Regions from separate parts of the Homo sapiens genome. Here region 1 is linked to region 2. Evidence: promoter capture Hi-C in 16 types of primary human blood cells and fetal thymus (Javierre and others, 2016). All regions are on one chromosome and are shown on one strand. The core of a region is centred on a gene start or on the middle of the fragment in contact, and the rest is flanking DNA. Distances in the headings are between cores, read along the strand shown.

Region 1 (6,071 bases), core at 3,572-6,071, 190 kb after region 2:
GGAGCCAGTGAGTCCGGGCACCAGCGGGCCCAAACTTTGAGGGGGCCCACTGGGAACCCGCTGCCCTACGGGCCAAGACCCCTGCCCTGGAGGGACTTCTGGCCTCAGGCACTCTGGGGCCCCCCATCCAAGGAACACCCCCGCAAGGATACGTCTCCGTATGCAGACCCGCTCTGGGACACACCCAGAGACACACAAAGAATCACACTGGCTTGTGGCCCGTCACCCTCGCCCTCAAACTCGCGCACACTGCATCCCAGGTGCACATTCGCGCACCATCGCGGACGCACACACATTCCATCCCCGACACACACATTCACGGTCACACACATCCCACAGGGGAGGCGACCCAGGGGCACAGAGGCAGGCACCACTCGCCCCAGATGTTCAGTCACTCCACGCACCCCATCCAGGCGCACGGGCCACCCCGGGGGTCGCCGGGCACACACTGCTCCCAGGCTCATCCACCCTGTGCTGGGCTGTTTGCGGGCTGCCTGTAGGGCTCCTCCGGGAAGGGGCAGGGTCCGGGCATCTTCTAGGGGCACTTGCTGAAAGCCTGGCTCTCCCCTGGCTTTCAGGTGAGGGGCTACCTCGGGCCCTCCCAGGGCCCCTGACGGCTCTGCCAGGCGGTGGGCAGCGCCTGTGAGTGCCACTGTGAGCGCCAAGCTTTGTTTTCAGCCAGTAGAGCAGCAGGCGAAGGTGTAGGGGGTGGGGGGGCACTGTAAGTGTGTTTTTTCCTTTAAGGGGGGAAGAAATTAAATAAAAGATTCTCACACCTCGGCAATATGTTTCTACTTACGGTGTGTCTTAGCACCTGACCAGCAGGCGGGTGGGTCGTAAAGTGTCTGCAGGTACCAGCGGGACGGGAGATGGGGACCCCCGTGGGGACCCTGGGATGGAGGCCACCCTTCCGCCCTGCTTGCAGAGAATCTCACACTTTTCCCTTTTAAAACACATGGTGTTCCTTTTTAATAACGGCAGTGGCTCCAGATTGGGAAAAGAGGAGAGAAAAAACTTTTAAAGGCCCCAGCTCTGCGGGAAAGGAGGGGAGGCAGGGAGTGAAAAGGGAGCTGTTCAAAAGCCCAACCTAGGGATCTGCTTTGGGGAGCCCTAGGAGGCCCTCCAAACCAAGCCAAGCCCCCACCAACTCCGGCTCAGTGGGCTGTTCCCAGCTGCTCCCCTGCCTGGCCTGGAGTGCGTGCATCTCTGTCCCCAGCGCCTTAGCCCATTGTTTGTGGAGGCCTGGAGGGAGTGCCTAGTCAGCCGGGACCCCAGAGCTGGGAGGGGCTGTCATCTTTGCAGCTCCTGGGGGCTTCAGGCTTCTGAGCCCTCTGGACATTGGATTGCAATCACATCTCATTGATCTCCCCAGCAAGTAGAACGTATTTCTCCTCCCATTTTATGGAGGAGAAAATTGAGAACTGGAGAGGGGAAGTCAATTGGCCAGGTTCTCCCACTGGTGTTGCGCCCATATCCCGGGAGGAGAAAGTGTCCTTCTGACCTTACCGGCTGGGGCTAAGGGGGTGGGAGATTGGTCTGTCCAGGCCCGCCTGGCCTTGCCTTCCCCCTACAACCCGTCGCCGCCCGGTGTCCCCCGCCCAGCCCCGGGAGGGCAGCTGCAGCTGCTGGCAAGTGAGCCACGCCGGCCCAGGCCAGGCGGGTGTGGCAGAGGGGCAGCGCCCCCCAGCCAGGACCCCCCAGAGAGCCCCTTCCTGCCCAGGCCAAGCTGGCGGGTGGTGGGGGCAGGAGGAGTGAGACCCACTCTAGAAGGGCTGAGAGGGGCCTGGGGTCTGGGCAGGCCTGGCCGTGCCTCCCACTCTGTTGGGGGGGCCCAGGCAGGAAGCGGTGGGTGGGCCGGGGCAGAGACGCTGGCACACCCGAGTTCATGCAAAAGGAATTCCGAATTAGCGGGCGGCTGGCTGCCTGGGACCTCCAGGGCGGTCCCCTGGCCCCCAGCCCCCCGCCCCCCTCGGCCGCCCCCGCCTCCTCGGCTCTGGCCCGCTCAGCCGGCTCCTTCGCACGGACGCGGAGACCTCCGGCGAGCCCTGGGCCAAGCCCCAAGCGCAACTGCGATTCCAGGCTCCAGCGAGACAGAGCCCTCGAGCCAAGTTTGCCCCGGAAAATCATCAGGGCCGGCCCAAGAACCGTGTCCACCCCACCTCGCCCATCTGGGGCAGTGAGGGCAAGTGCAGGGCAGCGCTGGCATTCAGGGGGCCTCCCTGGGGGCCAGGATCACCCTGTCCTTGGCTGCCATCTCTGCGAAGCTGGGCTGCCCCTGCCTCCTGCAGTCCCTTCTTCCAGCCGCCTGGGGAGTCCTTTTAACGCATATCTCACCGCATCCCTCCCTCCCCGGCTGAGAACCCTGGAATCCCTCCTCCCTGCAGGTCAGGGTCTCTGACCTCTCAAACCTCATTTCCCACCGCTTCTGCCCCAGGACCTTGGCACTTGCAGCTCCCACTGCCTGGACATGCTCTGTTAGATAATGTCACAGCTACTTCTCTTACTTTATTCAGGTCTCTGCTCAAAGGTCACCTCCCCAGACAGGCCTCCCAAGCTTCTGCCGCTGCTCTGTCTTCCTCCAGCCCCTGCTTTACTTTCTCCCCTAGTTATTGTCTTAGATATTTATTTATTCCTTTTTCCTGCTGCTTCCTTGGATTTGATGCCCACAAGGGCAGGACTTTTGTGTGTCTTGGGCATCACCCCAGTGCCCACAGATCCGGACACACTATAGGTACCCTGTGAATGAATAGATGAACGCGTGAACGAACAAAGGCGTGGATGAGTCTTTACAACCACTCTGTGTGGAACGAGAAGCCCCTTTCCAGAGGCTCAAAGAAGTAAAACACTGAGGCCGGGTGCAGTGGCTCACGCCTGTCATCCCAGCACTTTGGGAGGCCAAGGCGGGTGGATCACTGGAGGTCAAGAGTTCGAGACCAGCCTGGCCAACATGGCGAAACTCCGTCTCTCCTAAAAATACAAAAATTAGCTGGGTGTGGAGGTTATGGTGAGCCGAGATTGTGCCACTGCACTCCAGCCTGGGTGACAGAGTGAGACTCTGTCTCAAAAAAAAAAAAAAGTAGAACACTGAGTCAGGCTGGGGGCATTCGAGTCCAGGTCAACTTGGTTTAAAGATCTCATGGGAAAATATTGTCTCCAACAATATTTTCACTCCTCTCAAACAACCTCATGAGGTTTGTTTTGTTGGTTTTTATAAATTTAAATCTAAATTTTTTATTTCTTTTTTGAGACAGGGTCTCACTGTCACCCAGGCTGGAGTGCAGTGGTGCAGTCATGGCTCACTGCAGCCTCAACTTCCCGGGCTCCAGCGATCCTCCTGCCTCAGCCTCCCAAGTAGCTAAGACCACAGGCATGGGGCCACCACCCCCTCCCCACCTGGCTAATTTTTGTATTTTTGGTAGAGACAGGGTTTCACCATGTTGCCCAGGCTGTCTCAAACTCTTGACCTCACGTGATCCTCCCACCTCAGCCTCTCAAAGTGCTGGGATTACAGGCATGAGCCACCGCACCCAGCCAACCCCATGACATTGACGCCATGATGTCCACTTTCCAGATGGGGAAACTGAGACTCAGAGAGGCATTGGGAGGTTGGCCTGTGCACCCCCTCCTCCTCTGGGCCTTGGTTTCCCTATGGACAAGGTTCTGGTCTCCAGAAGGGGAACTCCTGGGCTGCCCTGATGGCCAGCAGGAGAGAGAGGCATCAACCACCCATGGGCGTCCCCAAGTTTCCTGTGCCTAGTACCTGACTCACACACAACCTGGTTCAGGAAGTCCTTTCCCCTCTGACTTTCACAATACCCCAGGAGACAAAGAGCTTTCTCGTTCTCACTTTGCAGATGAGGAAAACTGAGTGGAGGGAAACAGCGATGATGTCAAGTCCCTTTGGATGGGAGTTGGGGACGTGCAGTTTGCCAGGGCTGCCTTTAGTTCCAGAGGTAGGCAGTGTGGAACAGAACTTTGGAGACCAGAAAATCTGGGCCTAACTAGTATGGCCTTCCCTCATTCCAGCAAGGAAACTCCATCTTTCAGAGCCGGAGTTTTTTCATCTTTAACATATAAGCAGGATTGGCCGAGAAAATGTAGGTAGTCTTAGCCCAGTATTCAGAACACAACAAGTGCTCAATAAATGGTGCTGTTAGGCCAGGCGCAATGACTCACGCCTGTCATCCCAGCACTTCGGGAGGCTGAGGCGAGTGGATCACTTGATGTCAGGAGTTCGAGACCAGCCTGGCCAACATGGCGATTCTTGGACTCTACTAAAAATACAGGCTGGGCGCGGTGGTTCACCCCTGTAATCCCAGCACTTTGGGAGGCTGAGGCAGGCGGATCACAAGGTCAGGAGTTCGAAACCAGCCTGACCAGCACGGTGAAACCACATCTCTACTAAAAATACAAAAATTAGCCGGGCACGGTGATGTGTGCCTGTAATCCCAGCTACTCGGGAGGCTGACGCAGGAGAATCACTTGAACCTGGGAGGCGGAGATTGCGGTGAGCCGAGATCGTGCCATTGCACTCCAGCCTGGGCAACAAGAGCAAAACTCCGTCTCAAAAAAAAAAAAAACATGGTGCTCTTAATGATTCAAGTAAGGGTCAGGGCTTTCATTTTAAGCAGTGCCCTTCCCCCACAGAAACACCTACTATGTGTGAGGCTCTGGGAGCATCACAGGAAGAACCCACAATCTTTTGTTTCTAGTTGCCAAAAAAGAAAAACAAAATGAGAATGAAAAATAAAGAAGGCTAGGCACCGAAGCTCATGCCTGTGATCCCAGGACTTTGGGAGGCCAAGGTGGGAGGATCGCTTGAGGCCAGGAGTTCAAGACCGGCCTGAGCAAACTAGCGAGACCTCATCTCTAAAAAAATATTTAAAAATCAGCCAGGTGTGGTGGTGCACACCTGTAGTCCCAGCTACTTGGGAGCTGAGATGAGGGAGGATCACTTGAACCCAGGAGATCGAGGCTGCAGTGAGCTATGATCGTGCCACTGCACTCCAGCCTGGCCAACAGAGTGAGACCCTGTCGCTAAAAAAATAAAAAGCAAAGCATGCCTGGGTGTATTGGCTCACTCCTGTAATCCCAGCACTTTGAGAGGCCGAGGGAGGTGGATCACGAGGTCAGGAGTTCAAGACCAGCCTGGCCAATATGGTGAAACCCCGTCTCTACTAAAAATACAAAACTTGGCCAGGCGCAGTGGCTCACGCCTGTAATCCCAGCACTTTGGGAGGCCCATACGGATGGATCATGAGGTCAGGAGATCGAGACCATCCTGGCTAACATGCTGAAACCCCGTCTCTACTAAAAATACAAAAAATTAGCCAGGCGTGGTGGCGGGCGCGTAGTCCTAGCTACTTGGGAGGCTGAGGCAGGAGAATGGCATGATCCCGGGAGGCGGAGCTTGCAGTGAGCCGAGATCGTGCCACTGCACTCCAGCCTGGGCGACAGAGCAAGACTGCGTCTCAAAAAAAAAAAAATACAAAAGTTAGTCAGGCATGGTGGTGCACACCTGAAGTCCCAGCTACTCGGGAGGCTGAGGCAGAAGAATTGCTTGGACCCGGGAGGCGGAGGTTGCAGTGAGCCGAGATCGTGCCACTGCACTCCAGCCTGGGCGACAGAGCGAGACTCCGTCTCAAAAAAAAAAAGCAAAGCATAGTGTTTGTCATAACGATGTGCTAAGCAAGAGTCACTTGGATCCGAATGAGCCTCTATGCCCGAGTTGTGTGACCCCTCAGAGAACCTTAAGCATGTCAGTGATGAAGAGTTTTGGAAGGATCCAGTGTTGGAGTCAGACAGACCTGGACAACTCCAGGTCTGTCAGTTTGGCCACCAGTGTTGCCCTGGGCATTTAACCCAACTGATCTCTACCTTCCCTATCTGTAAAATGGGGGACAATCATTAACAGCGTCTTTTCAGGACCACCATGAACCCTGGAGGTCCTGGCATGGTTGGGGGCTTGGAGGGTCCCCGCCCTGGCCTGACACGTGTTCCTCTTTGACCCCAGACACAGCTGTGATCAGTCCCCAGGATCCCACGCTTCTCATCGGCTCCTCCCTGCTGGC
Region 2 (5,935 bases), core at 3,436-5,935:
TCCCACCCCTGCCTTTTGTTCCTTCTAGAGAGATGCCTCCAGTACGTCTCTCCCAGTTCAAGGCAGGCTGAGGATGCAGAGGTCGCCAAGCTGCCCTCCCCTGCCGCCCTGATGAATTCCGCAGACTGGGGGCCTACAGCCCGGCCCGCCCAGGGCAGGGCGGCTGCCTTCACAACATACTTTCCTTCTGCATTCACAAAGGCAGGCAACGGTGGGGGCGGGAGGCAGGGAGCCGGGGCGCCCACACGTCTCCTGGCTGAGCAGACGTCTGCCAGGAAGGGCCCCGGGGCCCCATCATGCAGGCACCCGTCCCTCTTCCCCAGCCTGGCCGGGCTCCTGGAACCACGGGGCCTGGTGTGGGGCTGGCTGGGGCGCCGGCCAGATGCTCTGGCCAGGAGGTCCTGGGCCGAGAAGACATCCCAGTTAATGAGGGGCTCGGGCCAGCGAAATGCTGGATTCTGTTTCTGTGGCAAGGACAGAGAGGGCGGGTATGAAGGGCTTGAGGGTCTTGCATGCCTCAGTTCTAATTCTGGCTGTGTGACCTCAGACTGTCTCTTCTCCTCTCTGAGTAAGATAGAAATAAGAACGATCTGAGGTATAAGCGACAGGCACAGGGTATAAGTTTTTTTGTTTTGTTTTGTTTTTTTGAGACAAGGTCTCACTCGGTCGCCCAGGCTGGAGTGCAGTGATGTGATCTCGGCTCACTGCAACCTCTGCCTCCCCGGTTCAAGTGATTCTCCTGCCTCAGCCTCCCGATTAGCTGGGATTACAGGCACGCGCCACCACGTCCAGCTAATTTTTGTATTTTGAGTAGAGATGGAGTTTCACGTTGGCCACACTGGTCTCGAACTCCTGGCCTCAGGTGATCCACCTGCTGTGGCCTCCCAAAGTGCTGGGATTATAGGTGTGAGCCACCACACTGGCCCACGGTGTATAAATTTCATATGGAATAAGCACGCTAGTAGCGCTGGAGCTGGGCGCTGGGCTGAAGGATTTCCATGGGTCAGCTCATTCAATCCTCTCAACAGTGATCATCCTCATTTTATGGGTGAGAAAACTGAAGCACAGAGAGGTTAAGTGACTTGTCCTAGGTCACACAGTAAGGCCATGCTCACCAATATTTGAACCCAGGCTGTGTGGCCCCCTTCCCTGCCATATCAAGTACAGAGGTGGCAGGGGTTACTAGGATTCATATGATAATGTTGGCTGGGTGCAGTGGCTGAAATCCCAGGGTTTTGAGAGGCCGAGGAAGGAGGATCTGTTGAGCCCAGGAGTTCGAGACTAGCCTGGGCAACATAATAAGACCCCCATCTCTATTTTAAAAAAAAAAAAAAATAGTAATGACATTACATTAATTATAAAAAGTAGTAATGGCCAGGCGCGGTGGCTCACGCCTGTAATCCCAGCACTTTGGGAGGCTGAGGCAGGTGGATCACCTGAGGTCAGAAGTTCGAGACCAACCTGGCCAACATGGTGAAACCCCGTCTCTACTAAAAATATAAAAAAATTAGCTGGGCGTGGTGGCAGGTGCCAGTAATCCCAGCTACTCAGGAGGCTGAAGCAGGGGAATCACTTGAACTCAGGAGGCAGAGGTTGCAGTGAGCCGAGATTGCACCATCGCACTCCAGCTGGGCGACAAAAGTGAGACTCCATCTCAAAAAAAAAAAAAAAAAATAGTAATGAACACGAATCATAGGGATGCTGTCCCGGCTCACCAAGCCCTCCAGCCTAACCTTTCTACACCAGTCCAGGCCCCTGGGTGGGAGCCCCTCAGGCTCGGAGGGACAGAGCAAACCACAGACACTCACAGTCCCGAGGATCATGGCTAGGCTGGAAGGTTATCTGGAGAATATCAGCAGGGAAGGCTTCCTGGAGGAGGGGACATTATAGCTGGACCTTGAAGGATGGAGGAGTTTGTACGAGGTGGGGGGAACAGCAGGTACAAAGGCCCAGAATGACACCTACAGTGAGTTATTCTGTAATCTGAGGCAAGTGTGGTGTGCACAGGAGGAGGGGACTGCTGCCTAGAAGGGGGATTTCAGGGCTGGCGAGATCCAGGAGGCAGGAGTGTGACCCCAGACATCCCCTTTCCGGGCCTCTGTTGTCCGATCTTGGGACACCCTCAGGAACTCCACCTTTGTAGTTCCCTCCGCCTGGAATGCCCTTCCCTGCAACTCCCCGTGGCCCAGCCATGGATAAGGCCACGTGTGTCCAAGCCCCAGCACTGTGACCAGCCTGTGGCAGGGGCCTGGCTTCCATGTGCTCCTGTCCTAGCTGTGTGCAGCATATGCCAGCCCCCAGGCCCCACTGGAGCTGTGGTTTTCCCGAGAATTCCAGTGCTGCCAGGAGCGGCCCCCAGGTGTGCTGAAGGCCAAGGAAAACAGGAGGTGAGCTCATGGCCCCAATGTAGGCAGCAGGCAGGGCAGGCACTATTGAGGACAGGCTTCATTGGAAATGCTCTGGCTGGGACCAGCTGCTTCCACCAACACTCCACTTATAGGCCTGTCTCTCTTCACGCACTCTCTGTGGCTCCCCATTACCCTCGGGAGACCACTGGAGCCCCACACCACCAGCACTGCCCTTTCACACACAGCCTCATCTCCTGCTTCTCACTGAGCCCCAAGAGCTTGTCACCTTGAGGTCAGTCCATCCAACGGGCCAGGTTGGTTCCTGCCTCAGGGCCTTTGCCTATGCTGTTTCCTCTACCTGGAATGACTTTCTGCTACCTCTGCCTGGCTGTGTCCTCCTCATCATCCGGTCCTCAGCTTGGTGGTCCCTCCTCCTCCAGAAGCCCGCCCTGACCCATCCCCTTTCAAACAGATCAATTTCCTGGGGACTCCTACCATTGTCTGTGTGTCCCGTCACAGCCATGAGCCCACTGGGCTCCCCATTTGAAGGAGAGACTGGGTCTGGCTTCTTCACCCTGTGTGCCCATCACCCAGCACAGGAGACATGACACACAACAGTCCTTGATGTTTGTGAAATAATTATTGTGTCTAGAAATGTCCCCACCTCCAAGCTTCACATGCTTCCCTCCACCAAAACTGCCCTCACCTTTTCCCTCTGCTGATCCAAGTCCTCCTTTTCTTTTATGTCTGTCTCCTTGCTACCTCCTCCAGGAAGCCCTCGGTGACTTCTCTGTAGGCTCCCCAGAAAACATATCTGGCTCTGAGTCTAGATTCACCCCTGCCCTCGGGCAGTGGCCTTAGGCCAGTCACTTTTTCTCTCTGGGCCTCAGTTTCTCTGTCTATAGAATAGACGCTGTGAGTACTGGAAGGTGGGAGTGGAGAGTGTTAACTGATTGCAGGAGGTTAAGGGGTTTTGTAACTCCAGAGTGTGGCTGGCCAGTTAGCGGTAACTTTTATTTTTATTACAGGCTGTTCCCACAGCAGCTGGAGCACAGTTTGGAAGGTATGGCACAGCCTGGACAAACAGAAGCCCCGGACCTCCCCTTGCTAGAGCCCTTTAACTTGCTCCCCTCCAGATGGGGGCCTCACACCCCATTGCGCAGATTGGAAAACCAAGTGGGCCTGTCCCCTTGGACAGGGGTTGGGGCAAGATCCTGAACGCTGTCCCCTCCTCCACCAGCCGAGGGACCATGGGGAGGGGAGGGAACACCAGCAATGAGTTGGGTTGGGGGGAGTCATTTGCAGCCCTCCAGCGTTGGGGCCAGAAGCGGCCTCCTTGGACAGAGGCAGGAAAATTGAGAGTCCCAGGTCTCAACTGCCCCTCCCCTATTTTCCATTCATCATCATAATCATCATTACTATTAATCATTAATTAATAATTATTAACTTATTACCTCCATTGTGCAAGGGAGGAATTACGCCTGGGTAATTTTTGTACTTTTAGTAGAGATGGGGTTTCACCATGTTAGCCAGGCTGGTCTCAAACTCCTGACCTCAGGTGATCTGCCCGCCTTGGCTTCCCAAAGTGCTGGGATTACAGGTGTGAGCCACCGCACCCAGCAACTTACCCAGTTTTGAAGCACTTCAGGAGGAGTGGAGGGCCAGTCAGTCTGATCCATAGTGGGTGGACCTATTTTTTCAGACGCTGGTGACTCTGTTTCCCGAAGTGTGAGCTGAGAGCGTGGCCATGGAGCCTGCCTTGTTTGGAACTGGAACTCAGGTTTGGCATACAGCAAGCACTCAATCAATCAATCAATCAATGAGCTGAATGCTATGGCTGGATCCTGTAATCCCAGTTATGTGGGGAGTATCGCTTGAGGCCGGGAGTTTGAGACTACTAGCCTGCAGGACATAGCCAGACCCGGTCTCTAAAAATAAAAATAAAAATAAAAATAAATTAGCTGGACTTGGTGGTGCGGGCTTGTAGTCCCAGCTACATGGGAGACTGAAGCAAGAGGATGCGATACAGCCACACCCCGTCACACACACACACACACACACACACAGACGCACACACACAGTGAATGAAAGTGGGGGCAGTACCCCCTGACTCCCTGCCCCACCAGCTCTCTCCACAGACCCCGGGACTCAGTTTCCCCACCATGTCGGATTCAGCCGCGGGCGACTTCGCGGGGCATTCCGGGCGGGGACTTGAACGCAGGGGCCAGCGCCATCTGTTTACCTTGAGGCTGGACGTTGGGCAGGGCTGTGGTGGGCCGTCCCTGGGGCCGGCCGTGCCTTGGGGATAAATAGGCCCCGCGGGCCTCGTGGGCGGTAGAAAGCGAGCAGCCACCCAGCTCCCCGCCACCGCCATGGTCCCCGACACCGCCTGCGTTCTTCTGCTCACCCTGGCTGCCCTCGGCGCGTCCGGACAGGGCCAGAGCCCGTTGGGTAAGCCGCGTTAGCACCCGCGCCGTGCCCACGGCCCCACAACGGACTGTAGGACCCGTGAGAGGCCCGGGATCCAGGCTGTTTGGGGCTCACGGACTGTTCGTAGGGGACGTGCCGGGCGCAGAAAGCAGGTGGCGGGACCGAGACTAGAGGAGCGCAGTGGGGCCTCGGAGGTCCGGGTTCGCTGCAACGGTGGGAGTTGGTGGTGGGATTCCCCGGCCCCATGACGCCTCACCAGGTCCCCTGCCGCCGCAGGCTCAGACCTGGGCCCGCAGATGCTTCGGGAACTGCAGGAAACCAACGCGGCGCTGCAGGACGTGCGGGAGCTGCTGCGGCAGCAGGTGCGGGGCCCGGGTGCGGGGCAGGGAGTGCCAGGGAACGGAAGGGGGTCTCAGTTCCCAGCGAGGAGAGAGGAAGTACCCGAGAAGGTGGAGAGGAGATGGGGAGGGAAGGGGGTCGGCGGGTAGGGAGTCCTTGGCGAAAAGAGGCTGTAGAAAGGGACCCCGGGGTAGAGAGAGGGGAGACCCGAGGGATGAGGAGAGGTTGGGACCCCGCTGATTCCATCCCACCCCTGCAGGTCAGGGAGATCACGTTCCTGAAAAACACGGTGATGGAGTGTGACGCGTGCGGTGAGCGCGGCGGGGCGGTCGGGAGAGAGAAGAGACGGGAGACAGAGACACAGAGACAGAGACAGAGAGCCAGGGAAAGCTGGGGAGGAAAAGAGACGGAAGGAGATGGAGGCTGACGGAGAGGTGGACGGACGAACGGGAATGGGATGGGGTGTGTAGAAACAGAGACAAAAAGAGACAGAAGCGGTGAGAGAGTTTTGGGGAAGTGAGAGACGCCACGGGGCAGAAAAGCGGGACAGAGACTCAGAGAAGAGACCGGGGAGACCCCGCGGTCAGAGCGCGCAGCCTCTGGGGCGGGATCGCGGACAGCGCAGGATTTCGGGCCGCCCCGGGGCGGGGGGTGGGGGGGAAGGGGAAGCCTCCAGCCCCGGGGCGTGGCCATGATAGGCTCTGCCCCCGGGCGAGCCACCGATCAGCCCCGCCGCTTCTCCCCCCTCCCCCCCGCAGGGATGCAGCAGTCAGTACGCACCGGCCTACCCAGCGTGCGGCCCCTGCTCCACTGCGCGC

Evidence for each region. Contacts are between HindIII fragments. The CHiCAGO score rates a contact against its expected background, and 5 or more counts as called.
Region 1: a contact is called between a fragment that was not itself captured here and the fragment with the promoter of COMP in region 2, in 1 of 17 cell types (M0 macrophages). The highest score is 5.9, in M0 macrophages.

What each region holds. Positions count from the first base shown.
Region 1 is chr19:18,599,789-18,605,859 of GRCh38, reverse strand. It overlaps CRLF1 (cytokine receptor like factor 1), which reads left to right. Exons shown (of 9, transcript NM_004750.5): 2 at 6,014-6,071. Among named protein-coding and RNA genes, the nearest start is that of CRLF1, 4.0 kb to the left of the region's middle. The HindIII fragment of the contact is 4,529 bases long and covers 2,557-6,071 here.
Region 2 is chr19:18,790,055-18,795,989 of GRCh38, reverse strand. It overlaps COMP (cartilage oligomeric matrix protein), which reads left to right and starts at 4,685. Exons shown (of 19, transcript NM_000095.3): 1 at 4,685-4,799; 2 at 5,055-5,140; 3 at 5,377-5,428; 4 at 5,876-5,935. The coding sequence starts at 4,721. RefSeq lists enhancers at 281-810, 4,366-4,944, 4,945-5,525, 5,526-5,935. The HindIII fragment of the contact is 6,208 bases long and covers 3,022-5,935 here.